6 separate regions of the Homo sapiens genome follow, and all the other regions are linked to region 1. The links are contacts of gene promoters, found by promoter capture Hi-C in human tissues and cell types (Jung and others, 2019). All regions are on one chromosome and are shown on one strand. Each heading gives the region's core, a stretch centred on a gene start or on the middle of the fragment in contact. The rest is flanking DNA. Distances are from core to core; before and after follow the strand shown.

Region 1 (3,847 bases), core at 40-2,539:
CCGCGAGAGACCGCACCGAGTCCGCGCCCACTGCCGCCCAACACGTACCTGAGGCGCACAGAACCAACGCTTGCCTCGGATCCCGCCCCTTCGGCGGCCGCCGCGCATGCGCGCAGTTCAAACCCTGGCGGCAGCGGCTTGTGCCTCGAGGCCCGGCCCCTTCCCCTTCCGGAGAGCCCACCGCTGGGTCCTAAAGCCCGCCGGGTGTTTACCCAGGACGGGGCTGGGGAAACCTGGTCTCTCCTAGCTCTTGGCTTACTTCCTGGAGACTTCTTAAAACGAGAGGAGAACCAGAAAGGCGTCCCCTAACTTCGCTCTAGTTAACTAATAGCAAGACTCACCCTCTTTACAGGATTCTCATGGCTCAGGCTCCCAGGGCTCCATGCAGCGGCGTTTGGTTTAAAGTGGAGAGAGGATACGCTTAGGTTAAAGGCAGCTGCAAGGAGACCTGTGTCCTGGGAGGGGCTGGGTGCAGACTTTGAAATCTGCTGCAAAATAAAAAGTTAAATGAGTTCCCATTGGACTCAGAACCTCGAATGTCTGTTCCTTCTTCGCAACAGTTGCGTTCTCGTAAAATCTTCTGAGAAAAGGAACTCGCCCCACGTTCCTTGCCTTTAATAAGGATGTTTGCTGTGGGATTTGGGCTCGGTGCTGTTTATGGTATTTATTCTTGGAATCTCTTTCACACTAGGCATCTCTTCCAGAGGACTGAGTGAAATACATCTGTGTAAATATAACGGCTCGTTTCGTTCTTTCATTGAAGATCTACTTTGTGCCAGGCACAGTGCTAGGTGCTGGGATTATCTTGAGGACATAACAGATGTAGTAGCTGCCCTAGGAGCTCGATCCCAATGACTTGCTGATCTGAACGAGAATCCTGGACTTGGCTCTTTTCGTTTGGTTCTTCTTGTTTGTTCACAGTCTTTTTGTCTCCTATAACGTTTAGCATAGTGTCATAGATCTAAATGATTAAAAGTAACCTATTGCAAGATGGAGGGAGAGAATGAAATAAATCATGAACCAGGCATTGAACCAGCACCTAGAAGCGCTTGGATTTCCAGCCGCGCTCAACGAGTTAAGGGACAGTCAGGGGGTGGAGCCAAGTGCTGGGGGCAGGCCTGGGCGCCTCACTGCCAGGGCGGCTCCAAGGAAACGTAATTAAACAAAGACTCTGGCCAATAGCCCTGCGGGATTAACGCGAGTGGCTGGCAGGTTGTCCAATGGGAGGAGACGTCGGAGTTGCGCGGTGAAGTTCGGCTTCCTGAGCCGCGGTGGGCGTGGCCGCGGTAGGCTGCCAGCCAGGCTGGGAAAGCGGTGGTAGCTGGTTGGGTTGCTGGGGCTCGGTTGTTGTAGTCGCGATGTTCTTCTCCGAGGCCAGAGCCAGGTCGCGGACGTGGGAAGCCAGTCCCTCGGAACACAGGAAGTGGGTGGAAGTAGGTTTCCGGAGGGCGACTGAGCCTCGGACTTCAGCTTGGCCTGGGCCTCTCGCTTCCTCTCCCGTGTCTGGGTCTCACTCTGCCGGGTGTGCAGATAAGACCTGGGCTGCCTGTCCAAAGGGTCGTGGTTAATGACTGATCCTGGAGCTGCAGGGCTCCTGGCTCCCCGTCCAGGACTACGGCTACCTCCAAGTTCCATCTCCTTTCTCTCTATATAGTCTATTAATGGTAACCTTGAGTCTGCATCTCTCCCGCCTTTCAAAGCCAGCCCCTTTGCCTCACCTTCCTAACTCCAGGACTGAATTTTGGGTAGAATTTATCTCAGTGGCCTAAATGAATTAATTTGCGTCACCTAGCGGTTAACTCGTTTGCACTTTGAGGGAAATTTCAGCCCATGTTTAAGAAAATTTCAGTCCATCTTTAAGATTTCTTGAGAATTAATATTGGGATAATGAAATTCTATTTTCATACTCTACCGCTGGGCCAAGTTTTAGATTTTCGAGGTCCAAACTGTATAATAAACTAGTAATAAAAATAAACCATTTCTGTCTCATTAACTAAAGCTATTTAATGTTCTTCAGGTATTTAAAGCATGTGATGAAGATCACAAAGGATATCTCAGCAGAGAGGACTTTAAAACTGCTGTTGTAATGCTGTTTGGGTACAAGCCCTCCAAGGTAGAGCTTTCTTATATATTTGGGGATGGGGTAGACGATCAAAGGTGAATGGATCCTAAGAAAAGTTCACAGGGCTAGCTTAGGATGTTTATAAATTGCTTTATAAGCAATTTCAGAGATGTGTCCAGTGCTGAATTTTAGCTTCCTCTTAACACCTCAGCCCAGAGATGAAGTAGAAATCTTTTCCACTGGAGTCTACACAAGCCTATCTCACCACCAGGCTGCTAATAACTACTATAAATACAAGATGCTAGAGAGGTGCCAAGAGGGAAGACTGAGAGGGGAGTGTTGGTAACAGGAGAAATTTACATAGGACATGACATAGTCTCTTTCTCGTTTTACTTTTGTTGCTTTGTTTATAAAATACATCCACGGTCAAAAAATTAAAACAGTGCAGAAAGGTATAAAGTTGAGCATAAAATCCGCTCGCCGCCTACCAGAGGGTCCCACTCCTAGGGGATTACCATTAACAGTTTTTTTGTGTAATTCTGAAATTTTCTATCCATGACATACATATGCATAGTCTTTTATTGAAAACATAAATGGGTAAATATTGTGCCTACTTTAACTTGCTTTTCTCATTTAACAATATATCAACCTAAAAGCACACACCACTACTGCATTTTAAAATATGGTTGCATATTCTTTTTAGCCAGGTTCCTGTCTGGGGTTATATAGGTGGGGTTTTTTTTTTTTTTCTGCCAACATTGCTGCAATGATACACACATTTATGTCCTTGTGGCTGTATATCTGTGGAATAAGTTCCTAGAAGTATAACTGCTAGGTCATGGAATATGTACGTTTAAAATTTTGTTAGATATTTGCTCTCCAGAAAAGATTGCACCAATTCACCAATAATGAGAGTTGAGCTGAGCCTCCATGAACCTCCTGCTTGAGTAGGGCAAGTTTCCTGCTCACCCCTGTCTTTATGCTTTTCTGCTTTCCTGTTACATTCATTCGAGAGACAACACCCTTCTTGTTAAGCTGGAATTAGTCAGAGTCAAGATATTGTCCAGATTCAAGAAATTGAGCTGCCACCATCAAGCAAAGGAAGCACTCAGAGCTCAGCCTGGAATGCCATCCCTCACTCTCATTAGACCAGACAGCTTGGCAGTTAATTAGGGCCCAGCTGTTCTCCTCATGAGTGGACTGTGCCTTTCTGTCAGATTGAAAGCCCAGCAAAGCCAGGGACCCTGTGATGTCATGCCTCTCCGCCCTATTTGTGTCAACAGAACATACTTACTGTGAAGTTGTGATGCACAATAAGTATTAATATATTCTCTTGACCCAAGTAGGTTGCATGAACAGCTCAGGTGGGTTCAGAGTGGCTCAGCTATGAGGGGCTGCCTAGTTACTGAGAAGCTTATTATGGAGCTCAGAGAAGTAGTCAGGGCTGACTCTTAGAAATGGCAGCTCTCCTGTTTACCTGTAATCATTTCAGTTGGAATTACAAAGCAGGTCAGCTGAAAAGAGTCAGCCTGTGAAGCATTGTATTTAACTTGGATTCACCTGGAAAGGTATCTTGTCTCATTTTTGCCTTTATCACCCTTGAGTCTATTTGGTTTCAATTTTAGAATGAGGAATTTAATGACAGATACAGTGATGTAACATACTGTACATACACTCCATGAAATTTAACAGATTTTACTTTTCATATTGAGGTGAGGTTTTCTATTTTATTTTTTAAGCAAATGAACTATTTAGTAACCGCAGGTCACTAAACGGTATTTACTA
Region 2 (4,123 bases), core at 238-2,737, 1.2 Mb before region 1:
AGATGGAGTCTCACTCTGTCACCCAGGCTGGAGTGCAGCGGCGCAATCTCCACTCACTGCAACTTCCACCTACTGGGTTCAAGCAATTCTCCTGCCACAGCCTCCTGAGTAGCTGGGACTACCGGTGCCTACCACCATGCCTGGCTAATTTTTGTATTTTTAGTAGAGGCAGGGTTTCACCATATTGGCCAGGCTGGTCTCAAACTCCTGACCTTGTGATACGCCCGCCTCGGCCACCCAAAGTGCTGGGATTACAGGTGTGAGCCACCGCACCCAGCCCAAACATAAGCTTTATGACTCTGAAAATTTGGGAATAACTCTGTCTGCCCAGCATGACTGTGAATGTCCATTCTTAGAGAGTTCTAGAATATTTGAGAACCTCATTCTTCAAAGTAAATCTGCTTTTAGTTACTTAGCCAAATAAAGCAACCCAACCAAGTGGCAAAAGTCCAAGGTATGACTGCTAAGGGCAAGAAAGGCCAACCCTTCTGTTTCACAGTTTGCTTGGCCTGTAAAACTAGAGCACACGTGTTTGCTTATTTAGTACAGAGTTTCTGCAACGGGTCCATCAGGCCAAATTCCTGTAACCACAAAATATGATGCACGAAATCTACATGCAGGTTGAGTGTATGATACTGCCAACAGTAAACGCTGAGTCATCGGTTCCATGGTTAGTCCTAATGATAAACTAGGCAGTTCCTTTAAGGATGTTTAGCTACTTCTGGCACTGCACAGCTCAACCAACGGCCTGACCCACAAGCCTACTTCAGGGTCACCATGAGCACCACTCCCTGGTTGGAGAGACTGGGGGCTCCACACATCTCCATCACTGGGAGAGAATTTGCCAGAGTGATAACGACCTAGAGACACCACCTGCATACACAGAAGACAGGCTGAACTAATAGCAAAGTATGCAAACTCTTTGGGCCTCAGTTTCTTTCTTTTCTTTTCTTTTCTTTTTTTTTTTTTTGAGATAGAGTTTCGCTCTTGTTGCCCAGGCTGGGGTGCAATGGCACCATCTCGGCTCACAGCAACCTCCGCCGCACGGGTTCAAGTGATTCTCCTGCCTCAGCCTCCCGAGTAGCTGGGATTACAGGCATGCGCCACCACGCCTGGCTAATTTTGTATTTTTAGTAGAGACGGGGTTTCTCCATGTTGGTCAGGCTGATCTCAAACTCCCCACCTCAGGTGATCCACCCGCCTCGGCCTCCCAAAGTGCTGAAATTACAGGTATGAGCCACCGCGCGTAGCCTTTACTTTTCTTTTTTTGAGACAGGGTCTCACTCTGTCGCCCAGGCTGGGGTGCAGTGGCACAATCACGGCTTACTGCAGCCTTGACCTCCTGGGATCAAGCGATCCTCCTACCTCAGCTTCCTCAGTAGCTGCTACTACAGGTACACTGCACCATGCCTGGCTAACTTCTGTATTTTTTTGGTAGAGACAAGGTTTCACTATCTTGTCCAAGGCTGGTCTTGAACTCTTGAGCTCAAGTGATCCTCCTGCCTTGGCCTCCCAAAGTGCTGGGGTTACAGGCATGAGCCACTGCGCCCAGCAAGGGCCTCAGTTTCTTCATGTCAAATGCCACACATGCAGGACAGACATTTTGTTAGCACCTTCTGGTTCTATCATTTTCGTAATCTGTAACTAAACAATAATTTATGAGTTAATGATGTTATTGAGTTTTAAGTTTTTGGTTGTTAAAATAAATTCCTAGCCAGGCACAGTGGCTCATGCCTATAATCCCAGCACTTTGAGAGGCCAAGGTGGGTGGATCGCTTGAGCTCAGGAGTTCGAGACCAGCCTGAGCAAAATGGTGAGACCCTGTCTTTACTAAAAATACAAAAAAATAGCCAGGCATGGTGGTACACACCTGTGGTCCCAGCTACTTGGGAGGCTGAGGTAGGAATATCGCTTGAGCCTTGGGGGTGGAGGTTGCAGTGAGCCGAGATGGAGCCACTGCACTCCAGCCTGGGTGATGGAGAGAGATCCTGTCTCAAGAAAAAAAAAAAATCCTTTGTTAGAGATGTGTGTATCTTTCTTTTTTGAGACAGAGATTTACTCTGCCATCCAGGCTGGAGTGCAGCGGTGCAATCTTGGCTCACTGTAACCTCCACCTACTTAGTTCAAGCGATTCTCCTGCCTCACCCTCCCAAGTAGCTGGGATTACAGGTGCGTGCCACTGCACCTGGCTAATTTTTGTATTTTTAGTAGAAATGGGGTTTCACTATGTTGGCCAGGCTGGTCTTGAACTCCTGACCTTAAGTGATCCACCTGCCTCAGCCTCCCAAAGTGCTGGGACTACAGGCTCACGTGCGCCACTGCGCCCCGTCTGTGTTTCTTTAATTGAGAATAAAATTACCTTCAGTTGGTTGGTCTGGTCTCAGAATCACACATTGGTCCAGAATTACACTTGCCCTGCTCTGAAGAAGAATGCCACCTGAGAGCACAAATGTATAGAAAGAAATGTACATAATAAAGCCATCACAGAAGCAGATATGATGGGACAGATATAATAACAGATGCCCTTTCAACTTGATCCTCTCATGCTAGGCCTAAAATAAAAGAGTTAGATTTAGTGTGTGTATATATGGGTTACGTTTCAGAAGACATGAAATTGGTCTAAATCTAAATAAAAATGAGCTAAGCTCTGCCTAGGTTCATTTACATTCATCTATCAACAGCCTTGCAGAGATGGTTATGTAAGTGCTACGGGATGGTTCCAGCACTTGTTTCAAAGGGTCTTTCAGTCCATTCAAGCTGCATCCAAAAATAGTTGAGGCTGGGCCCTATTCTGTACTGCCTGTGGCTTCACAAACTGAAAACCACCATATCAGACGTGGTTATGCCCTACCTTGCTCGGCTTTCTGGGTTAGATCCTCTGAAATTTCATTTTATGAGTATTCCTGATTACCAAATGTTCAGAACTCAGCTCCTGCCCCACAAATTCTTTATGACATTGCATAAAACCAGTGACAGTGCCACATCCAGGCAGGATGAGGACCACGCACTCCTAACTATGGAGACAGGAATGCTGGCAGTGCTACTTTTGAGGTCACTGTTGGCCAAGATAATTGCTTCACTAGGCAAAGGCAAACCCCCTTAAGTGAGTTTCCTGAGGACTCAGAGAGGAAGGCCACAGGTGCTCCAGGAGGAGGATGCACCATCAGGGACCTTGGACAATGACAGCAAGACAGTGAGAAGCCTCTGGGGACCATTCTACAGGGGACTTCTTCCCTGGCCGTGCAGCTGACAGGCCCCAGGAAGCAGAGTCCCTGGGCTCTCCCTGGCAGCTCTCGGTGCATTTCCAGGGGAACAGCTTGGCAGCCCCGTGCTGGGTGGTGCGCTCCATCTATTTCTATGGTACCTATCACCATGGTACCTACTTGCTCTGAAAAACACAGCTAAAAACAGAACATAAAGAATAGGAGCACAGTCCGCTTCCCTGCAGTCACCTTCTGCAGCTGTTGTTATGCCTCAAGATTGCTCTCATGGGCCCCCTTCCATTCTGAGTTTCCATGTTTTTGTTGTTTGTGACCTTCAAAAACAAGAGGCTTACTAGCCGCATCAGCCTTGTCTTGGGGACAATGTGTGTGGCCTGAGGCTTCAAAAATGTCCCACTCGTCTTGCTGCAGGTGTACATTCCTCCGGGGGACACAGTCACCCAGGAAGCAGCTCCTCCCAGGGCTTGCTCGGAGCCCCATATGAGATGTTTTCGGGAAAGGGGAAAAAGTGGGAGTGGAGGATGACTGTGACGTTAGTGGGCATAGATGCCCCGAGGAAGGACCTGCGCTTATTCCAACAAAGAGGATCCTAAGCTTTCTCAGGAACATGCTGGAAATTGTGCTCAGGGAAAGATCCACAAGGCCAAATCACTTCTCCAAAGGTTTTCTTTAACTCAACAATTATCCTTCACAGCAGTGCTCAGCCCATCCATGGTAGTCAGACAGAACTTGAGTTCAGATCCCAACTCAGCCACTTGCCAGCCATGTGAGATTAGTGGGCAACCTCTCGAAGGTTAAATTTACTCATTTTTAAAATGGGGCATGGGCCAGGCATGGTGGTACACGCCTTAATTCCAGCACTTTGGGAGGCTGAGGAGGGTGGATGGCTTGAGCTCAGGAGT
Region 3 (4,091 bases), core at 219-2,718, 1.2 Mb after region 1:
TGTTACCATCCTCAAAGAATTGATGATTAAATAAGGCGGCAGTGTATATTCAAGTGCTTGTCATAGTGCCTAACACATGGTCTGCTTTCTGAAAGTGTTGCTTTTCCTTTTTCTATATTTGCTCCCTGATTTGACCTCAGCCTTTAAATTTTTTTTTTGACAAATAATGATAGTACATATTCATGGGTACATAGTGATGTTTTGATACATAAAAATGTATGGTGATCAGATTAGGGTAATTAGCTATCATCCCAAACATTTGCTATTTCTTTGTTTTAGGACCATTCAATATCCTCCTTCTAGCTATTTGAAACTGTGTATTCATATTACCTATACTCATTCTACAGTGGTATAGAGTAGTAGAACTTATTCCTCCTCTCTAGTTACAATTTTGTATCCTTTAACAAATCTCTCCTTGTCCCTCTCTCAGCCTTGATAGCCACTATTTACTTTGCTTATGAAAGCTCTGGGTTTTGTTTTATAATTACAGCTCAGATTTTGAAGCCTGTAAAGTCAGTGGTGATATTCATTATTATGTTTATAGTTACTTTTAAATCATTGGAACAAATTGGAATTAACTTGCTTTACTTCCACTGTCTGATGTAACAGTTCCTGGTAACAGTTAATTCCTAGTGAATTAATTAAGGTTCTGTGTTCACATTCTTTATTTCAATATGCCTAACTCCATCCACGTTTTCTCCAGTGCATCTTTCACTGCTGCTGCAATTCTTGATTTGTTATTCTGGTATTGATTTGATTGATGGATAGTAGTAAATATTTATTTTTTGACAAATATTTAATACCAAAAAGGCTGTATGCTGGGCTTTAAGGCACATGATATAAGCACTGTGAAGGTATTTTTGTCTTGTTCATCTTTGATGGACAGTGTGTTTGATATGGTACTTGATATATATTAAGTGCTTAATAAGTGATTGGCAAATTAATTATGAATAAGGAGATCTTACTATTTTATATTGTAAGTAAAGCTAAAGGCTCCATTTTCAGGTTTTTATAAAAAGCTTATCTCAAACTAAATAAACTATATTTTTATAATGAGTTACATTTCTTTCCCTTTGCTAGAAGAAATGAATAGTAACATAGTTCTCTTTGCAGGCAATACATGTGAGGAAATTAATTCCCAGAGATGATCTAGAACTGCACTGTCCAACCATACATAGCTATTTAAACACAAATTAGTTAAATGAAACTTAAAATTCATTTCCTCAGTCACACTAGCAGTACATTTCATATGCTTATGTATCTAGTAGTGGTTACTGTATTGGAAAGCGTGTGTGTGTGTGTAATATTTTCATCATCACTGAAATTTCTATTGGTCAATATTGATTTGGATTCTAGAACAATAGTTCTTAACCCTTGCTGAGCATCAAAATAATTTGGGTACCTGGGCTTCATGCTTCAGAGATTCTGTCTCAGTTCATCTCAATTGGGAGTCCAGGCATCCCATTTTATGATTTCCCAGGTGATTCTAATGTGAAGCTAACATTGGGAATCACTGATCTAGAAGAAAATAATGGATTCAAATTAGGACATGCTGAAAGAAAGAAAACAAGCCACTTATGTACACAAATTATGGAGATTTTAAGTTTAAAAATTACAAAGTTTAATTAAAGTACTCATTAGATCTTTGAATAGATAATGATCATAATTTTTAGTTCTTTGAGGCTTCAAATTTTAAAATAAGAATATATGATAATAAATTATTTTAAATGTTAATTACTTATTACAAAGTTGAATTTTTTCTTTGGGCCTAATTTCTTTATGCAGAACTATTTAATGTATGTATCTCTGCCCTGTCCCATTTTTTTGGTTTATTTTTTAGAGATGGGATCCTACCATGTGGCCCATGCTGGAGTGCAGTAGCTATTCACAGGTGTGATTTATAGCTCACTGTAGCCTCAAACTCCTGGCCTCAAACCATCCTCCCACCTCAGCCTCCCAAGTTGCTGAGACTACAGGCGTTTGCCACTGTGTCCACTTCCCCCCAACTCCTTTTTCTTTAAATTTCTCTCCGTGAACTATAAAAATTTACCTAATTCCACCTAATAGAACAAAAGCCCTGGTAATGAAGATTCATGGTTAACTTCTTATTTTCTCCCAAGAATGAACAAATCATTCCACATGGACATCTATCTTATTTTTTTAAGCTTTACAAGCAAAGCAATTGCTCAGCTTTGAAAATATCAAATATTATAGTTACAGTGAGCTGCAGTTACCGTGAGCTGTAGCATACTCTTTTTTTCCTATCCTTAATGTTTCTATCAGAGAGAGTATGTTAGATTTGGTCCTTTTTCTTCTTCTTAGTCTATGATGACTTACCTTCATTTTCATTGCTAACCGATTCCCAACTTTTTAACCTAAAATTTTTTTTTTTCTTGAGACGGAGTCTCACTCTGCGCCCAGGCTGGAGTGCAGTGGTACACTCTTGGCTCACTGCAACCTCTGCCTCTTGATATCAAGCGATTCTTGTGCCTCAGCCTCCCGAGTAACTGGGATTACAGGCATGCGCCACCATACCTGGCTAATTTTTGTATTTTTAGCAGAGATGGGACTTCGCCATATTGGCCAGGCTGGTCTTGAACTCCTGACCTCAGGTGATCTGCCTACCTTGCTCTCCCAAAATGCTGGGATTACAGGCATGAGCCACTGTGCCTGGCTTAATCTAAGTTTTATGTAGATTTCTTTTCAGAAACCTAAGGAAAGCATAGCATATTTTAAAAATAATCTGATTCAAACCCCTTATTCTTACAGATAAGAATTGAAACCAGTGACTATATAGCTATGCTATAACGTAGCTTTTGACAGCACTAGGATGAGAATCTGAACATTGAATGCTATTTTATCATAAGGCAATTTCTTAGTTAATTTTTAGCTCACTGCTCTAATATAGCATCAAAGTATTGGGAATGTTTTACTTTATTTTATAAGAATTCTTTGGTAATTTGATTATACTATATACCTTTTAGTTCTGGAGTTTATGTGGAAATGCTCTGACCCCAAAACGAGGTGTCTTTGGTAAGACGGGTGACCTTCAGACAATACTGTGCCTAGCCTGTGCAAGGGATGAATTAACATATTCTGGTGCACTCAATGGGGATATATATGTTTGGAAAGGAATCAATCTTATACGAACAATACAAGGAGCCCATGCTGTAAGTACATTTAAGTATTTTAAACACTTTCATGTGTATTACTTAACCTTGTCTTAGAATGATAGACTGCGTAATATAGTATATTGTTTCTAGTCAGTTTGGTTGCTTGAAAATGCTTTTCTAACTGAATTATCTATTTGTTTTCAAGATTTCAATGAAGAAATCAATTAGACTCATTGATATTTATTACATTAGTATAATTAGTATCTTGTTAAAGCTATTGCTTTAGTATGGTGTCTTTCTGAAGAGTAGTGTTGAAAAAAAGCTTGTTGACTTCAATCTAAAAGTATTCTAGATTAACCACACCAGAATAAAGCTAGTGCTCTTGAGGCTAATTTACCAGAGGCAATTAAATTTTCGTGTAAATAACTTACTAAACTTAAAAAGAAATCTGCTGTTTAAATTCTTAGCGTTTTTTGGTTTGAGCTTTTTAGCAGTTTGGGTCCCCCTTACAAAGTAAAGGGAGCTAGATAGCACAAAGCTGCCATGTTGTTAACAGCAAGATCTTTGTGTAGAAAAGTCCTCAGTGCATTACATTTCTATTAATTGGGTTTTCCTACCCTTTTCTTTTTTACTTTTTAAATTTTTTGTGGTTGTTGAATTGGTTTTCTTTCCTTTATTCATTTGAATATTAGGGTTATTAATCTTTTGACAGTCATACATGTTGCAAATATTTCTCCAATCTGTTTGTCTTTGCTTATTACATCTTTTCTCATATGAACAAATTTAAAACTTGTGGGTGATCTGCCATGCCTAGAAAAGTCTCTCACAGCCCAAAGTTACCTAAATGTTATTCTGAATTTTTCTAATATTCTTGTTTTATATTTAGTTATAAATAGTTATTTTTTAAGTTCATGTATAATTCATTTTTACATGTGGTATAGGAATTAAATTTATTTTCTTTTATGTTCTATCCATATA
Region 4 (4,096 bases), core at 1,388-3,887, 1.2 Mb after region 1:
AAAAGACAGACATTCCCAAAGCGGCCATTTTAGAGACCTCCCCTTGGGAACACATTCTCTTTCTCAGGGATGTTCCTTGCTGAGAAAAAGAATTCAGCAATATTTCTCCTATTTGCTTTTGAAAGAAGAGAAATATGGCTCTGTTCCGCCCAGCTCTCAGGCAGCCAGACCTAATGGTTATCTCCCTTGTTCCCTGAACATCGCTGTTATCCTGTTCTTTTTTCAAGGTGCCCAGATTTCATATTGTTTAAACAATTTGTGCAGTTAACGCAATAATCACAGGGTCCTGAGGCGACATACATCCTCAGCTTACGAAGATGACGAGATTAAGAGATTAAAGTAAAGACAGGCATAGGAAATCGCAAGAGTATTGATTGGGGAAGTGATAAATGTCCATTAAATCTTCACAATTTATGTTCAGAGATTGCAGTAAAGACAGGCATAAGAAATTATAAAAGTATTAATTTGGGGAGCTAATAAATGTCCATGAAATCTTCACAATTTATGTTCTTCTGCCATGGCTTCAGCCGGTCCCTCCGTTCGGGGTCCCTGACTTCCCACAACAGTATGCCATGAAGTAACTGTTCTTAAAACAAATAGAATGTTGGAAGTTCTCAGCAAAGAAATAGAAGTTGTAGAAAAATGGAATACTTAGAACTGAAAATATAAAAATATAAATAATTCTCCAGGGGACTCAATTTCTGAGTCTGCATGGTAGCCAGACTGGCCCCAAAGATATCCATACTCTAATTCCTGGAACCTGTGAATTTTTTATGTTAAACAAAGCACACATGACTTTGCAGATATAATTAAGATAGGGATGTACCTTAAGATATTGAGAGTATCTTGAATTATCTAGATGGGCCCAGTCTAATTATGTGAGCCCTTAAAAGCAAATAATTTTCTTTAGCTGGAATGAGAAAACATGCAGCAGAAGTCAGAAAGATTCAAAGCTTGAGAAGAACTCAATGTGCCGTTGCTGATTGGAAGATGGAGGTGGTAACATCATGAGGCATGCAGTTGGCCTTGAGGAGGTGAGCAGTTCCCCCTTGACAGCCAGCAGGGGAGTGAAAGCCTCAGTCCCTTTACCACAAGGAATTGAATTCAGCTAACGTTCTGAATGAACTTGGAAGCTGACTCATCCCCAGAGACTCTAGAAAGTAATTTAGTTGTGTTAACACCTTGACTTTTGGCCTTGTGAGACTGTATGCACAGGACTCAGCTGAGCCACACTAACCAGATTTCTGCCCTGCAGAACTGGGAGATAATAAGCTTGTATTGCTTTAAGGTGCTAAATTTATGGTAATTTGTGACATCAGCATAGAAAACTAATATAATACCCTTGTTACAAACTAATATGTTACTTTTTTCTTTGGATGCTGGCAAAGACGTGAAATTCCTAGGTTAGAGACAAAGGACTTTATTATTCATGGCATAGAAAACAGCATGAGCTAGTCATGGCAGAATGCACATCCTTTTCAAGTGCCAAAACGTTTACCAAAATAGGCTATATATTATAAAACAAACCTTAACAAATTTAAAAGAATTGAAATCATATAGAGTATGTTCTCTGACCATAATGGAATCAAAATAAAAATCAGTAACACAGAACAGAAGGGAAAGTAGAATATATTATGAAAATGAAAAGAAGAAGAAAGTGAAAATACAACATATCAAAATTTGTAAAATTCAGCCAAAGCAGTGTTTCAAGGGAAATTTGGAGCATTAAAATGCATATTTTTTAAAAGAAAAATAATCTCAGGTCAGTAATCTAGGAGTCTGACTTAAGAAAATAGAAATGGAAGAGCAAACACAAAAACAAACAAAGTAGGAAATAATGAAGACAATTAGTGCAAACAGTGAAACAATAGAGAAAAACCTAAAGTTGGTTCTTTGAAAAGGATCAGATTGATAAACTTCTAGCTAGGCTGACCAAGAATAAAAAAGAGAAGACAAAAATTACCAGTATTCATCAGGATATCACTATTGACCTAAAGACGTTAAAAGGAGAATAAGGGATTACTATAAACAACTTATACATTTGACAACTGAGATGAAATGAACTATTCCCTCAAAAGATATAAACTACCAAACTTACAAGAATAAATGATTCCAATTCCACACAATTGCTTATAGAAAATAGAAGAGGAAGTACTACTTCTCAACTGTGTTTATGAGGCTGGCATCACTCTAATACAAAATCCAGACAAACATTTGAAGAAAAGGAAACTACAGACAACTGTCCCTCATTAATATAGATGTAAAAATTCTCAACAAAATAAGCTAATAAGCAAATAAAATCCGTCAGTAGGATAATATATCATAACCAGGTTTCATTCCAGGTAGGATTCATTCCAGGAATACAAGGCTGGTTCAACATTTAAAAATTAATCAGTGTAATTCGCTATATAATTGCTAAAGAAGAAAAGCCAGGTGACTATCTCAGTAGTTACAGGAAAAGCATTTGACAGAATTTAATACTTATTCATATTTTTAAAATGCTTAGCAAACTAGGACTAGAAGTCCACTTCTTTAACCCGGCTATAAAAGCATCTGTAAAAACCTACAGCTAAGTTTATTCCTGATGGTGAGAGACTGAATGTTTTCCTTGTAAAAGCAGGAAAAAGACCAGAGTGTCTATTCTTGTCACTTCTAATTAAACATCCTGCTATTTTATTGAGTATTTTTGCATCGATGTTCATCAGGGATACTGGCCTGAAATTTCCTTTTTTTGTTTTGTCTCTGCCATGTTTTGGTATCAGGATGATGCCGGCCTCATAAAATGGGTTAGGGAGAATTCCCTCTTTTTCTATTGTTTGGAAGTGTTCTGGAAGGAATGGTACCAGCTCCTCTTTGTATCTTTGATAGAATTCGGCTGTGAATCTGTCTGGTCCTGGGCTTTTTTTTGGTTGGTAGGCTATTAATTACTGCCTCAATTTCAGAACTTGTTATTGGTCTATTCAGGGATTCGACTTCTTCCTGGTTTAGTCTTGGGGGGGTGTGTGTGTCTAGAAATTTATCCAGTTCTTCTAGATTTTCTAGTTTATTTGCATAAAGTTGTTTATAGTATTCTCTGATGGTAGTTTGTATTTCTGTGGGATCAGTGGTGATATCCTCTTTATCATTTTTTATTGTGTCTATTTGATTCTTCTCTCTTTTCTTCTTTATTAGTCTTGCTAGCTGTCTATCTATTTTGTTATCTTTTCAAAAAAACAGGTCCTGATTCATTGATTTTTTGAAAGGGTTTTCTTCTCTGTCTCCTTCAGTTCTGCTGTGATCTTAGTTATTTCTTGTCTTCTGCTAGCTTTTGAATTTGTTTGCTTTTGTTTCTCTAAGTGTTTTAATTGTGATGTTAGGGTGTCGATTTTAGATCTTTCCCACTTTCACCTGTGGGCATTTAGTGCTATAAATTTCTCTCTAAACACTTCTTTAGCTGTGTCCCAGAGAGTCTGGTGTGTTGTGTCTTTGTTCTCATTGGTTTCAAAGAACGTATTTCTGCCTTAATTTTGTTATTTACCCAGTAGTCACTCAGGAGCAGGTTGTTCAGTTTCCGTGTAGTTGTATGGTTTTTGAGTGAATTTCTTAATCCTGAGTTCTAACTTGATTGCACTGTGGTCTGAGAGACTGTTTGTTATGATTTCCATTCTTTTACATTTGCTGAGGAGTGTTTTACTTCCAATTATGTGGTCAATTATAGAATAAGTGCTATATGGTGCTAAGAAGAGTGTATATTCTGTTGATTTGGGGTGGAGAGTTCTGTCAATGTCTGTTAGGTCTGCTTGGTCCAGAGCTGAGTTCAAGTCCTGAATATCCTTGTTAATTTTGTGTCTCATTGATCTAATATTGACAGCGGGGTATTAAAGTCTCCCACTATTACTGTGTGGGAGTCTAAATCTCTTTGTAAGTTTCTTTTTTTTTCCCCCGAGATGGAGTTTCACTCTTGTTGCTTAGGCTGGAGTGCAATGGCATGATCTCAGCTCACTGCAACCTCTGCCTCCCGGGTTCAAGTGATTCTCCTGCCTCAGCCTCCCGAGTAGCTGGGATTACAGGCATGTGCCACCACAACCCGCTAATTTTTTATTTTTATTAGAGACTG
Region 5 (4,057 bases), core at 1,299-3,798, 1.5 Mb after region 1:
CCAGGATGGTCTCAATCTCCTGACCTCGGCCTCCCAAAGTGCTAGGATTACAGGCGTGATCCCCCGCACCTGGTCAACTTAGTGTTCTTATGCTTACTATTCTCAGAGAGGAAAATCATGCTCTAATAATAATTTTAGGAAACACTTGATTTCAGGAGACAAGATTTTGTTGATGCTTTCTCTTCTGTCCTATCCTCCTGGTGTCATGATGGAGATTTTAGCCCTGTTTTATTTTCCTTGTTTAAAAACGTAGCCGTTCTGAGAGGTAGCGTGATCTAACCCGGGTCATCTAAGTCTGCACTAGAATGCAGAGTAGCATATGAGGAGGGGGCTTAACACACAAAGGGGGCTGCTGCAGAAACCATTTAATTTTTCAGAATGACTTAAAGAATTTATATATTTTAAAAATTATAAAAAGCTGTCCGGGCATGGTGGCACACGCCTGTAATCTCAAGCACTTTGGGAGGCCAACACTGCTTAAGTTCAGTTGTTTGAGACCAGCCTGGGCAACATAGTGAGACCCCATCTCTACAAAACACACAAAGATTAGTTGGGCATGGTGGCATGTGCTGGTAGTCCCAGGTACTCGGGAGGTTCAGGTGGGATTGCTTGAGACTGGAGGTTGAGGCTGCAGTGAGCTATGATGGTGCCCCTGCATTCCATCCAGCCTGGGTGACAGAGTGAGACCCTCAAAAAAAAAATTTATAAAAGCTTACTATAGTCAATTGATTGCATTTAAAGCTTTTGTTTTTTTTTTTTTTTTTTTTTTTTGGACTTCAGCTGATTTGTTACGTCTGTCTTGTTTTAAAAGGAATGCAGTCTGCCTGGAGCCTCACCTTTCATTACAACAGAACTTTGTAACCAATAGTGTTTCAAAACCTTCTATCTGGAAGACTTTATCAGGGCTTTGGCCTTGAAAGGAATGTCTTCCTACTAATGTTTGTTAAACAAGTGGTGTGTGAAGGAGTGTAATCTTTCTGGGTTTATTGGCAAAGGAGAACACTCCCTCTGTGTGTTCCTGGTCTTCAGTGCATTGAAACTTCTTTTCACAGGGGTTGTATTTGTGTATATTTCATATATACATATAAATCCTTTTACAGGGAATGAAAAAGACTCGAGTAGATGCAAAAAAAATTGGTCCTCTTAAACTGGCTGCCCTAAATGGACTCTCCCTATCTCGAGTGCCTCTGCCTGATGAAGGAAAGGAAGTGGCTACCAGAGCAACGAATGATGAAAGGGTATGTATGGGACACACAGGGCTTTGTGCCTTCTCTGGAACAACCGGTAAATACTACGCAAATGCCTTCATGAGATTTTGGTGAATTTTCTAACACAATTTAATAATAAATGAGTGTTAAGGAATTTTGTAATATGGGCCTCAAAATTGGGGCAAATGTATAGCTAATGTCTTAATAGATAATTTCAGGTTCGAATGCTGATTTTTTGTTTGTTTGTTTCTCAGTGTTCTTTTTTACCTTCTCCTGGCCTTTTGGAGCAGTCTTGATTTTGATGGCCTTAAAGTGAGAAGAAATCTACAAAAATACAGGAGCATACAGGGGAAAAGCAGCAGACATTGACTTTTATTATACTGAAAGTTTATCTCGAGAGTAGTTTCTCAATTTTTCAAAACTTCCTTTGTGCCTGAGGTGTATTTTCTATGAGGTTTTATTACATCAAAATCAGATAGGCATACATTTGCTTTACAACGGGATCCTGGAGGTAGTTTCGAATATTTCCTACTGCTTTAGTCTTTTATATATCGTATGACATAAAATGGAAACATTTGTTCATAGCTGTTGGAACTCATTATCCGTCCCCTAGATTTACTTACTGTTCCCCAGGAGAATTCCATCTATTAGGGGTCACAAAATTGACCACAGATCTAGAGAAAATGAATTCAACAAATTTCTTTAGGCCAATTTTCAACTTTAAACAAAAGTTTGCATTATATTTCTCACCAAAATGATTGTCTTTTGTTCTTTTAACTCTTGTTGTTGTGGCTTTTTAAAATTTTAACTTCATTTTCACCTAGAATTTTGTTTCTGTTTTGGTTTTGGTTTGGTTTTTTTGAGATAGGTTCTCATGGTTCACTGCAGCCTCAACCTCCTGGGCTCAAGCAATCCTCCTGCCTCATCCTCCCAAGTAGATGGGACCACAGGCATGCACCACCACACCTGGCTCGTTTTTTAATTTTTTGCAGAGACGGGGTCTCACTGTGTTTCTCAGGCTGGTCCTGAACTCCTAGGCTCAAGTGATCCTCCCTCCTTGGCCTCCCAAAGTGCAGGGATTACAGGCATGAGACACCGTGCCCAACCTAGAATTTTCAATATTATACAGTGCTAGATTTGAAGCAGAAAACAAGATTTCAAATATACAGTCAAAAGGTAGCCACGACGTGTGGCTGTATTCATGTTATTACACATATTCTGTTTTATAGTGTAAAATTCTGGAACAACGATTAGAACAAGGAATGGTATTCACAGAATATGAAAGAATTCTTAAGAAACGGCTAGTTGATGGGGAGTGCTCAACAGCACGACTCCCTGAAAATGCAGAAAGAAATCGATTCCAAGATGTTCTTCCTTATGATGATGTGAGAGTGGAGTTGGTCCCAACTAAAGAAAACAACACTGGTTACATCAACGCATCACATATTAAGGTGAGAGGAACGCCTCAAGTAATCAACAGCACATGCAGTTTCAGTTAAGTTACAAGAATGGTAAGAATTGTATTCATGTCTGTTTAGAATTCAGATATTTTAAAATTTATTTTTATTGTATTGTTTTAGATAAACACCCTAGTTTTAAACATTTGTGACAAACTGTACTGCAAGCTGGGAAATCCACATACCAGTGCTAGATAAAAAGCGTCTATCAGACAGAGCCAAAGTCATGTCTACTCTCCATGTGCGAAACCACTCTGCCCCCAACACTGTTACCAGGACTCAGGGCGCACTTATTTGCCCGGCTTTTTTTTTTTTCTTTTGCCTTTTTTGAGATAGAGTCTTGCTCTGTCGCCCAGACAGGTGGAGTGCAGTGGTATGATCATGGCTCCCTACAGCCTTGACCTTGTGTTGCCTGGCTTTAGAACTTTGTCCTTCTAAATCTGAAGACCTCTTTTTAGCTCATAAATTCTGGGAGCCACTGAATTGCTAGTTTTTCCTCATCACATACTGACATGCATTTTTATGTAACAAAAGTGTCTGGGCTTTTTGATGGTGTTCACAAAAGCTTTCAACTTACCAAGGTGCCATCTGTTCTCTTTACATACTCTTTATAATAATTTTTAAGTATCATTTTTTTTCTTTGAAGAAGTGCTTTTTTCCTGGAACCAGTATAATGCCATTAAACTGGGGTAATGTTTATGGTGAGAGATAGGGGGTCCAGTTTTACTTTTCTGCTTATGGATATCCAGTCTTCCCAGTCCCATGTATTTAAGAGGCTGTCCTTCCCTAGTGTATGTTCTTGGCACCTTATCTGGGGTAATATCACTCCTATGAAAATGGACAAAATGATGATTCACAACACATGATGGAATAAAGCCAGATGTTCCCTCTTCCTCATTGTACCCTTTGTTCATGCTGGCCACATTCAATTCTTTATTTTGGGAAGGAGAAATCTCATGGTGAGTGAATGAGTAACTGTGGACAGGTGGTGGTTTTTTTCTTTAGTTTGCAAGTATTATTTGAGAAGGGAACAAGCTGACACCAAGGCTTTCTGGAGACTGGCAGTCTGCCTGTGAATGCCAGTACCCCTTGATGGCTTTTGGGAATCTATGCACATACTATTTTGTTTTTAAATATAATATCAGCATAATTTACTTAAAAACCGAGCATTTCCTTGAAATAACTCATCCAGTCTCTCATGACTAGATGGATAAGAATGAATGATACTGTAGTTCTGTAGTGATATTTCAAAATCTTCAGCAGCCACTTGCAGAATAGAGGAAAGAATTTGATAGACCTGGGTCTGACGCCTAGATCTAAAATGAGGTGGGACCTCACTTTATAAGCTGTGTTGTGGGACCTCATCTCACTTACATGGAAATAAATAAATGA
Region 6 (3,851 bases), core at 777-3,276, 1.3 Mb after region 1:
TCGTCAGAGGGATTTGAGTTTGCACCTATGGATTTTATATTCGGGGAAAGGGATGAAGTTAAGGTGAAAAACACGTTAGTAATGGGGAAGGGAGAACTGAGAGATCTTGTAAATTGACTGACCCCCGCGTTGCCAGGGAAGTCTAGATGGAGTGTTAAGGGCGCAGTGCCTCCTCAGCTCCTTTTCCAGGTGTCGTTTGCTGATGGTATACCTCATGTACCTCAGATCATAGCAATGGGAGGTCACCTAAGGAAAGGGGATGGAGAGTGATCATCCAGTTTTTCATTATGTATAAAGAGGCAAAGTATTAAATTAGGGATATTTTTAAGAAAGCACAGTATACCATAATCTAAGTACTTGTACAGAATTCCATGTTTCAAGTAACTTGCTAGAATGCAGCATCGTATAGTGCAAAGGACATGAATTCTGGAGTCAGACAAATGGGTAAAATACTCATTTTTTTCATTACCAGTTGTGTGAGTTTGAAAAATTATTCATTCTTTCTGAACCTCAGTTTCCTCAGTGGCAAAATGAACATTATAATCCCTAACTTATGGTATATTTCAAGTTTTAAATGAAATAATGTAAATCAAGAATTTAGATAGTAGGTCTTCATTAATGACACCTTATCCCTTGGAATGAAATGAAAGTTAACTGAGGAGATACCTGGTAAATACTTAAACATTATTTCTGAAATTAAATATTCACAAAGCAATAAGCGCTACATATGTATTTATTAGATAAATACAGATAAATATGAAAATATAATATTATTTAAATATTCTAATTAGAATATTTGAAGTGTAGTGTTTAATATGACTTAAGGAAAATTATGTCTCCTAAGTAATGAAAAGTGAAAAGTGTTCTATGGGGAAGAAGGGGCTCTAGACATTCCCATAAATTTCTTTCATTTGTTATATTGATTTTTTAAAAAAATTATTTATTGGATAAATTTGGTATGTCAGAAAATGTGACCTAATTTTAATCTGTAGTCTGCTTCATTCACGGTAAAACACTTAAATGTAAATTTCCACCCATTGCTGAAGTGAGGCATGTTCTGACAGATGGAAATATTTTACTACTCATGAAGAATGATTAACACTGTCATAACTGAAATCTTTGATGTTAGCTTGTATATTCTGCAGCTAACTTTTTCAAAGTAATTTTTCAAATTGCTTTGCATTTTGTTCTCAATTTACTTTACAATTTCAACCCTGCTAAATATTTTGAAAATGACAAGGTGTGGGGAGGGAGAGAGAGGGTCTGTTGGCCCCCGTGGCAGAGTCCAAGCTCTACTCTTTGCCTTAAAAAAAAAAAAAAAAAAAAAAAGAAAATGACAAGGCAGAAGTCATCAATGTGATTTCATTTTCACAAAATGAAAAAAAATCAAAGGAGATTACAAATGAAGAGGTTCATATCTCTTTTACCAACTTAGAATATTTGTGAGGAGATAATATGGTTCATGGTTTATTTAAATAATTGCTTTTTAGTAACATATATTACTGTCATAAATATGAAATAAAGCACTTTATATGGAAAACAGGCCAGGTGCTGTGCCTCATGCCTGCAATCTCAGTGCTTTGGGAGGCTGAAGTGGGAGGACTGCTTGAGACTAGGTGTTTAGCACCAGCCTGGGTAACACAGCAAGACCCCATTTCTACAAAAAATAGAAAAATTAGCCAAGAATGGTAGTACATGCCTGTACCAGGAGGTTCCTACTCAGGAGGCTGAGCAGGAGGATTGCTTCAGCCCAGGAGTTGGAGGCTGCAGTGAGCTATGATCGCACCCTTGCACTCCAGCTATGGCAGCAGAGTGGGATCCTGTCTCTGGGAGAATAAATAAATGAAAAAAAAATTAAAAACAATTAAATACTTATCAAATATCCACTTAAAAGGAAAAATGCTTCTGATGACAATAACCATTCTATTTGGTTGATACTTTCGTGGATGTTTTTCCTAAGTGATAATTTTACCTTTTTCTTTTTTAATAAATGTTTTTGTTTTTATTTTTTTGTTTTGTTTTGTTCTTTTGAGACAGAGTCTTGCTGTGTCGCCCAGGCTGGAGTGCAGTGGCACGATTTTGGCTCACTACAACCTCCAACTCCTGGGTTCAAATGATTCTCCTGCCTCAGCCTCCTGAGTAACTGGGATTACAGGCAGGCACCACCACGCCCAGTTATTTTTTGTTATTTTTAGTAGAGACGGGGTTTCACCATGTTGGCTAGGCTGGTCTCGAACTCCTGACCTCAAGTGATTCACCCACCTCAGCCTCCCGAAGTGCTGGGATTACAGGCATGAGCCACCTTGCCCAGCCAATAAATGTTTTTATAACAAATATTATGTATTTAAAGTAGTTAATTTTTGTCAAATTTCCAGTATTTGTGAATAAAAATATTTAAATCAATGTTTAAACCAATGTGACATAAGTTAGACATTTTTGTATTTCCTTAAAATTCTGTTGACATGTTGCCTTTCTTCTGTTTGCTAAAATGCTGTATTCTATTCATCATCAATTTTTATATGTTTTCCTACTTTTTTCCCCCTTGCTCCTTTTGAAGGCAGGGAGTAGTAAGGTAAGTGTTTTATAAAAGAAAATATTTTATTCAAAAATTTACCCTTTATTTTATTCTTTATGGTATTTTAAGGTATTTTTTCCCTATAAAACATTTAACTACATTTGTCAACAAAGCATTATAAAATGAAGTAGGACAAATTCTATAAAAGAGTTGCATTTTTAGATAGCATATATGGTTGTTATTATAAGGGTCTTCATTATGATAAATTGTTTTACATATGACTGTACAAACTACTACAATGCAAATGAATAGTTTTGGTTTTCTTTAAGTTTCAGAGGCTCGTAAAAACAAACCTAACCACACATATATTTAAGTGAAAGACTATTCAATTTTAAACCTGTTAACATGATTTAATGCATGTTTAATCCATTCATTTAAAAAGATGAAAAGAGGGTAACTATGGTATTTGTATGTTTAATAAAATGACATGTAGGTAAAGACTCTTTGGGTTACTTTTATATCTACCTTTGGTGATGTGAAAATGTCTTGAAAGAGTTTCTGAAACGACAGTGTGGAAATGGCTAGTCTGTTTTATAAATTAAAAAAGGTATCATGGCTGGGCACGGTGGCTCAGGCCTGTAATTGTGGCTCAGGCCTGTAATCTCAGCACTTGGGAAGGCCGAAGTGAGAGGATTGCTAGAGCCTGGGAGTTCAAGACCAGCCTAGACAACATGATGAGACCCTGTCTCTACAAAAAATAAAAGTAAAAATAAATTAGCTGGGTGTGGTGGCAGCCCTGTGGTCCCAGCTACTCAGGAGGCTGAGGTGAGAGGGTCTCTTGAGCCTGGGAGTTTGAGGCTGCAGTGAGCTGTGATGGCATCACTACACTCCAGCTTGGGCAACACAGCAAGACCCTGTTTCGGGGGTGGGGGGTGGCGGGAGGAAGGTATCACTAGGAAAATGCTGGGAGATAAGGATGAAAACAGTAGACTTGAGACCAGATGGTGCAGAAACTCAAATAATAGGCACCTGTTAATATTATATCTACAGCAGGAATCCATCATCTGTTTTAAGCAGAGTGGTGTGTACAAAGATATGAGTTCAGAGTATGAAGCAACCTCTAAAATGGGCCATAAAATCTTATACTATTTTACCAGAAATAAAGCACCCGGATCTAGCCTCACATCTAGAATAGCTTACTCAGTACTGATCTCTACATTTTAAAGGAGACTTGGATAGTTTATAATGGGCTAGAAGAAAGCACAGGAGGAAGGGAGGTTGGGAGGCCACTTCATATAAAGAATAGTTAATTGACCGGGTGCAGTGGTTTATGCCT

Evidence for each region. Contacts are between HindIII fragments. The study calls those that stand out against the background at their distance.
Region 2: a fragment that was not itself captured here is called in contact with the fragment with the promoter of EFCAB11 in region 1 in 1 of the 25 tissues and cell types used here (dorsolateral prefrontal cortex).
Region 3: a fragment that was not itself captured here is called in contact with the fragment with the promoter of EFCAB11 in region 1 in 1 of the 25 tissues and cell types used here (aorta).
Region 4: a fragment that was not itself captured here is called in contact with the fragment with the promoter of EFCAB11 in region 1 in 1 of the 25 tissues and cell types used here (lymphoblastoid cells).
Region 5: a fragment that was not itself captured here is called in contact with the fragment with the promoter of EFCAB11 in region 1 in 1 of the 25 tissues and cell types used here (lymphoblastoid cells).
Region 6: a contact is called between a fragment that was not itself captured here and the fragment with the promoter of EFCAB11 in region 1, in 1 of the 25 tissues and cell types used here (lymphoblastoid cells).

The regions. Positions count from the first base shown.
Region 1 is chr14:89,952,172-89,956,018 of GRCh38, reverse strand. It overlaps EFCAB11 (EF-hand calcium binding domain 11), which reads left to right and starts at 1,289. Exons shown (of 6, transcript NM_145231.4): 1 at 1,289-1,433; 2 at 2,018-2,113. The coding sequence starts at 1,359. It overlaps TDP1 (tyrosyl-DNA phosphodiesterase 1), which reads right to left and starts at 92. Exons shown (of 17, transcript NM_018319.4): 1 at 49-92. RefSeq lists an enhancer at 1,060-1,560. The HindIII fragment of the contact is 8,047 bases long and covers 1-3,847 here.
Region 2 is chr14:91,146,095-91,150,217 of GRCh38, reverse strand. The region is part of intron 1 of DGLUCY (D-glutamate cyclase); the gene reads right to left. Among named protein-coding and RNA genes, the nearest start is that of SNORA11B, 22 kb to the right of the region's middle. The HindIII fragment of the contact is 5,320 bases long and covers 1-4,123 here.
Region 3 is chr14:88,739,466-88,743,556 of GRCh38, reverse strand. EML5 (EMAP like 5) reads left to right here. Exons shown (of 44, transcript NM_183387.3): 5 at 2,985-3,170. Among named protein-coding and RNA genes, the nearest start is that of EML5, 51 kb to the left of the region's middle. The HindIII fragment of the contact is 5,935 bases long and covers 1-4,091 here.
Region 4 is chr14:88,762,338-88,766,433 of GRCh38, reverse strand. All of the region lies in intron 1 of EML5 (EMAP like 5), which reads left to right. Among named protein-coding and RNA genes, the nearest start is that of EML5, 29 kb to the left of the region's middle. RefSeq lists a silencer at 1-122. The HindIII fragment of the contact is 3,048 bases long and covers 1,114-4,096 here.
Region 5 is chr14:88,470,846-88,474,902 of GRCh38, reverse strand. It overlaps PTPN21 (protein tyrosine phosphatase non-receptor type 21), which reads left to right. Exons shown (of 19, transcript NM_007039.4): 14 at 1,101-1,238; 15 at 2,438-2,659. Among named protein-coding and RNA genes, the nearest start is that of PTPN21, 82 kb to the left of the region's middle. The HindIII fragment of the contact is 3,644 bases long and covers 727-4,057 here.
Region 6 is chr14:88,648,633-88,652,483 of GRCh38, reverse strand. EML5 (EMAP like 5) reads left to right here. Exons shown (of 44, transcript NM_183387.3): 28 at 2,558-2,572. Among named protein-coding and RNA genes, the nearest start is that of ZC3H14, 88 kb to the right of the region's middle. The HindIII fragment of the contact is 5,237 bases long and covers 1-3,851 here.